2 separate regions of the Homo sapiens genome follow, and region 2 is linked to region 1. Evidence: promoter capture Hi-C in human tissues and cell types (Jung and others, 2019). All regions are on one chromosome and are shown on one strand. The core of a region is centred on a gene start or on the middle of the fragment in contact, and the rest is flanking DNA. Distances in the headings are between cores, read along the strand shown.

Region 1 (2,826 bases), core at 31-2,530:
GTTCTCTTGCACACCCTCTGTGGGCTCCCAAACAGCAAGAGCTGTGTTCCCACCTAGCCTGGAGCTAGGCACACAGCAAAGGGTTGGATAAAGAATGCCTTTGAGGCTGGGCGCCGTGGCTCACGCCTGTAATCCCAGCACTTCGGAAGGTCAAGGTAGGAGGATCGCTTGAGCTCAGGAGTTAGAGACGGGCCTGGGCAACATGGGGAAACCCCGTCTCTACCAAAAACACAAAATTTAGCCGGGCGTGGTGGCCTATGCCTTTGGTTCCAGCTATTCGTCAGGCTGAAGTGGGAGAATCGCTTGCACCCAGGAGGCAGAGGTTACAGAGAGCTGAGATGGCGCCACTGCATTCTAGCCTGGGCTACAGGGCGAGCCTCTGTCTCAAAAAAAAAAAAAGAAAGAAAGAAAGAAAAAGAAAAAGAAAAATTCCTTTGGGACAAGAATGTGAGAACAAGGAGGAAGGGACTCGTGGGAATGGGGATGGGGAAGTTAAGGAGAATAGACTGGTCAGAATGAGTCCATGGGGTAAAGTGAAGTGAAGAGATGGGAATGGTGGATAAAAGGAGAGAGGTAAGAAACGGTGGATTGGGGTAGTATGGGAGAGGAGGCCGGGATTAGTGGGAAAGAGTAGGACAGAGTCAGAGGTCAGTGGGAGCACTTACCAGAGGTCACGGGGGTGAGAAGGCTGGGGTCAACAGAGAAAAGATCAAGGATCAGTAGGAGAGGTATGATTAGTGGTCACTGGCGACGACGAAGGTCAGAGGTCATCAGAAGGAAGGTGTGCGTACGTTACCTGCTTATGAGGCTGTTTATGGGGAGCCTTCGCAGAAGCAGGAATCATCTCAACCCCTGGAGAGCCTACAAAACGCTCCCTCGTCTGAAGACAAAAAGTTTGTCCGTCTCCTTGACCACACACAAGAAATCTGGACTCTCTTCCACTTCAGTTACCAGTCGCAACGGTTCTTTAGGGACAGCCGTCGTTGTGGGTCCCCGTGCCCTTGCAGGATAGAATCCAACTCCCTGACGCGGTTACCCAGCAACCGACCAGCAGCCAAGGCGCAGGCGCTTCGGCGCGCCCAGCCGGCCCGGAAAGGAGGCGGGGTTGGGCGCGCGGCGAGCGAGTCTCCACTAAGCCCCGCCCCCTCAGGAATCACAGCTGGGCGGCCGCGCGCATTCGGAACTCCCGCATGTGGGTGGGGCTGGGGTCCCCAGGCACCGCCTCCTCATGAATAATGCAAGATCCGGGCGGTGTCCCGGACCCGGAAGTGGAGTTGCCGAGTCACCGCAGTGGCTGAGCTGCTGACAGGAGGCGGCAGCGGAGTAGGAGGCGAGGCAAGACCTGCGGCTCGGCCCGGCCACAGCCGCGGTAGTGCTAGGCAAGCCCACGGAGTCACGCCGGCCTCAGCCAGTCTGCGAACCTCTCGCCCCCGCCCACCCCTGCATCCGCCCGGCCCCTGCCCGCCCGAGTGGTCCGGGGAGGCCTAGTCTGCACCACCCGCCGGGCTCCTGGGGCCGCCGCCCCGCGCGGTCCTGTCGGCGTCCGCGGCCGCGCCCGGCCCCTGGCCCGCTCGCCCGCCGGCACCATGATGGAGGAGATCGACCGGTTCCAGGTGCCCACCGCGCACTCGGAGATGCAGCCGCTGGTGAGGGGGCGGGCGGCGGGCAGGCCAAGGCCGGAGGGGGCGTCGCTTGAGGGGGAGGGAGGGAATCAGGCCGGGGGGATCGTGCGGAGGGGCGCCATCGGATGGGGCAAAGAGATCCCTGAAAACGTATTGCCGGGGGACGGGGACTTGCAGGACAAGAAAACCGTGGGAGAATATGCTGGATGAGAGCAAAGGGACCTGTAAGGGCGGAGGGCACCGTCGGTGGAAGCAGGGCACCGTCGGATGGAACGGAGGGGGCACAAAGGTGCACACCGCTAGTGGAGGCCCATAGCAGGGACTGGCGAGGGAACTGCCATGGGGCACCGCCGGCGGCAGGCCCAGGGGTCTGGGATGGGAGGTGGGGAGGCGTTTAGTCCTAGAGGCCTGTGATGCTTAGGGCGGGGGAGCCGTCAGGCTAAGAGAGATTGGGAATCAGCTTTTAGAAGAGGAGGGGCTTGCCCGCCTGTCCGCTGGATATACGGACAGGAACGCTGGGCCGGGGCGAGGGACCCAGTGGGGGAAGGTGGTTGGTGCAGAACCTGGGAATTCCGTTCTCCGGTGGGGAGCGCAGGCAGACCAGGCTGGGGGCATCTAAACCGGGAAGGAGAGTGCGCGGCGACCAGATGGGGAATCGGGGTGCAGATGAGAGTGCTCGGGAACCGACGGGAGAGGAAGTGGGGTCGCGCTGGAGCTGCCTGTGCGCACTGGTTGGGAAGAGCCCCCATCATCTTAGGCCTACGTGCCTGAAGTCCTTGCTGGGCGCGGATCCTGCCGCCTGTCCGCGGTCCCGGAGTCAGGGAGGAATGATGTCATCGCTGCTGGCGCGGAGGGAATGGAAGGGGGAGGGCAACTCGGGTGCACCGAGGCTAGGCCTAAGGGAGACCATGCTTGCTGGCCACCGCCCAGGGGGCTCCCTGACCTCGCTTGTCTGTCAGGCAACCGGGTGGGAGACGTGGAGGCCTAGCCAGCTCGTATAGTGAGGGGGGAAGAGAGGGAATGTCTAGGCTGTGTTCGCTTTATCCCCCTGGAGCCTGAGCTGGAATTGGAAGGAGGCAAGGTGGGCTACAAATCCGAAAGTGTGGATGCCCCATTTCTCTGAGCTGTGCTGGCTGGAGCAGAGCTGAGTTCTCCAAGTTCTGAAGTTCTGCTTCTGTGTTAGGCAGGGTGGCCAGAAACAGGT
Region 2 (3,108 bases), core at 243-2,742, 1.2 Mb before region 1:
GTTGTTCAGAAGTGTGGGTGACCTGGGGACCCCCAAAGTACAGCTGGAATCTGAAGAGAAGATTTGTGAAGGATTAAGCCCTTAACTTATGGAGTCTGCACTAACTGTAGATGGTCAGTGCCAGAAATGGCTTTTAGTACACCAATTTTGGTTGAAACAGAAAAATGTCACAGAATGAAAACCATTTTAGTAAATAGCAATAATTCAGTCATTTTTGGTGGAAATTCTTTGATGTGATCTAAACCAAAATGAGATCAGCTTTGCTTCAAAAAGATTTTGCCAAATAAGAGAAACTGCTGAATATTTAACGTTTAAAATATCAATTTCTATGTATTTTTTCCTTTTTCATGGTGTTCAGGAATTAATTTTGTTAGCAGTCAAGATTGCTTAATCCTCAGAGTTACATTTCCATTTTGCAAAGTAACAACTGGTTGGTTTTTACTCTTAGTTTCCCTTTCCCCAGCCAGCATGTAAACAACCTGCCATATTGTTGCAAAAAGGCAAATAGGGTTAAAATTGGAGACAAGACTTCCATCATTTTTGCCAAGCAGAGAGGGAAGAACTCAGTAATCACATAATTCTGCTCAAACTAAGTGTATCTGAGAACTATTCAAATGTTCACAGGAGGACAGATGACCTCTTTTTTCTCCATTTCTCTTTGGATGTTACACTTTGTCATTTGTCATCAAAATTGGCCTTTTCCTTTATCTCTTTGTGGTAAAGCTTGATGGCATCTGAATTTACACTGTCTCCTTGACAGTTGTGCTGCTTCTGCTTCTTTCTGGCAGTTTCTACTTTTCCTTTCATTTTATTATCCTGCTTTTTATTTCAATTTTGTTTTTATAGTCTCTGTGTACTGTCTTGACCTTTAGATGGTCTTACCTTCAACATGGCAAGGATGTCACACTACCACGTACAAATAACAATGTGCTTTCTTAGCTCATTTCCCTAGCATGACTTTTTTTGAGATGTCAAAAGCAAGTTTTTGAGAAACCAATTGCATTTTTATTTTGCCCTAAGGGTGCTTAACCCAATGTCTCTTCTTTTATTATTATTTTATTACCCAAGGGAAAAAAAATTTACTTAGTTTATTTTTTTAAAGCCAGTACTTTGCTCATCAATTAATGTTTGTTGAATTTATTCCTACTGGATGAGTAGTTGTATTCTTTTGAAATAATGTGTCAAATCTTTGTGCCCAAAGATTAAAAAAATAAAAGTAAAATACATCTAAAAAAAAAAAAAAAGAATAAGGCGGCCTTCCGGCCCCTCTGGGTCTAGGGCGGTAAAGCGTCTAAGGGTTGCTGCCAAGCGGGCCAGGAACTGGGCTGGGTTTTCGCCTTTACCTTGGGTAGTTTCCTTTAGCTTGTCAGAATTAACAGCTTTGTGTGCTGCCTTTTTAAGCCCTTCAACTAGGCAGGAAATCATGTAATCTCGCCTAGCTATACCTGGGGAATCTGCCTGATAGTTCCTTTGGGGGTCCTCTCGGGGAACTGCTCTGATGCCTTCCTGGAGGCCTGGCTCATGAAGCCAGCGGTTGTCAGCGTGAGACTGGGCTAGAGAAAAAACTCTTTCCTGTTCATCTGGGGAGAGGGTGGAAGTCAGGATGACATTTAAGTCACTGCAGGTTAACTTGCAGGACAGAGTTAGATATCGGAATTCCTGTATATATTTAGCGGGGTCTGATGAGAAAGAGCCCAAACACTGGCTGATTTGGGAAAAGTCTGATACAGAAAAAGGCGCATGTACCCAGACTATGCCTTCAGCTCCAGCCACTTCTCTAAGAGGAAATTGTTGGGCAGGTGGGGGAGAGCTAGTCGCAGAACAAAACTGTAAGCCAGACTGGGTGTGAGGAGGGGAGGTGATAGAAGGGTTATAGGGTGGGGGAGCGGAGGCTGAAGAGGAGCTGGAGCCTGATTCAGCCTGGTGGGGAGCGACCTGAGGAGGAGCAGTCTGGGGAGGAGGGGAGAGGTCAGATGGGTCGGTAGAAAAGGAAGATTCAAAAGACCCAGCAACACTTGGGGTTGGGACTGAAGGGACAGGTGGGAGGGAAAGAAGGAGGATTTGGGACAAGTCGCATTGGGAACAGAGACTAGGGAGAGAATGAAGTGTGAAAGACGCCCGGATGTACGGCACCTCCGACCATTTGCCCATTTTTCGACAAAAATTATCTAGGTCTTGTAGGATAGACAAATTGACAGTGCCGTTCTCTGGCCACTTGGAACTATTTTCGAGTTTGTATTGGGGCCAAGTGGTATTGCAGAAGAAAATAAGGCATTTAGGTTTTAGGTCAGGTGTGAGTTGAAGGGGTTTTCAAGAACACAGGCTAAGGGAAAAGATGGGGGAATCGAGGGTGGAAGGTTGCCCATAGTGAAGGAGGTAAGTTTAAAGAGAAAGGTAGAGACACGGAGCAGGGGGTGATGAGCAGCCCTGGGCTGCAATGTGGGTGAGCAGCCAAAGCAGGCGTCCCCACAATTGACTTGCCACCAAGGGAATGTGGGTGAATGACCAAGGCAGGCATCCCCGTGGTGATCAGACACCAATGAAATGTGGGTGAATAATCAGGCAGGCATCCCCGCAGTGATTAGACACCAAGGGAAGGCTGTCTTCCTGAGTCCATGACCAGCGCCGGAGTTTTGGGTCCACAGATAAAATGTGTCTCCTTTGTCTCTACTAGAGAGGAAAAAGAACTGGAATTGGAAGGACAGGGAGATTGAAGGGTAGCAAGAGAGGGAGATTGAAGGGTAGCAAGAGAGGCTGGAGAAGAGAGTGAAAAGACCGCTTACCCAATTTGAAATTGGTGAGATGTTCCTTGGGCTGGTTGGTCTGAGGACCCGAGGTTGTAGGTGGATCTCCTCACAGAGTTAGGGCGAGGACAGGGGACCCGCCTCCCGAAGGAGTCCTCCTGTCCCGGGTCTTCAGCACCAAATGCCATGCACGTCTGTGTGAAGAGACCACCAAACAGGCTTTGTGTGAGCAATAAGGCTGTTTATTTCACCTGGGTGCAGGCGGGCTGAGTCCGAATAGAGAGTCAGCAAAGGGTGATGGGATTATCATTAGTTTTTATAGTTTTGGGATAGGCGATAGAGTTAGGAGCAATTTTTTGCGGGC

Evidence for each region. Contacts are between HindIII fragments. The study calls those that stand out against the background at their distance.
Region 2: a fragment that was not itself captured here is called in contact with the fragment with the promoter of FAM219A in region 1 in 1 of the 25 tissues and cell types used here (spleen).

What each region holds. Positions count from the first base shown.
Region 1 is chr9:34,457,024-34,459,849 of GRCh38, reverse strand. FAM219A (family with sequence similarity 219 member A) reads left to right here and starts at 1,280. Exons shown (of 6, transcript NM_001184940.2): 1 at 1,280-1,646. The coding sequence starts at 1,587. It overlaps DNAI1 (dynein axonemal intermediate chain 1), which reads right to left and starts at 1,045. Exons shown (of 20, transcript NM_012144.4): 1 at 797-1,045. The coding sequence starts at 844. RefSeq lists enhancers at 919-988, 1,085-1,379, 942-1,482, 2,614-2,826 and a silencer at 1,359-1,608. The HindIII fragment of the contact is 10,660 bases long and covers 1-2,826 here.
Region 2 is chr9:35,637,161-35,640,268 of GRCh38, reverse strand. It overlaps a transcript of CD72 not described here. Among named protein-coding and RNA genes, the nearest start is that of SIT1, 12 kb to the left of the region's middle. The HindIII fragment of the contact is 4,615 bases long and covers 1-3,108 here.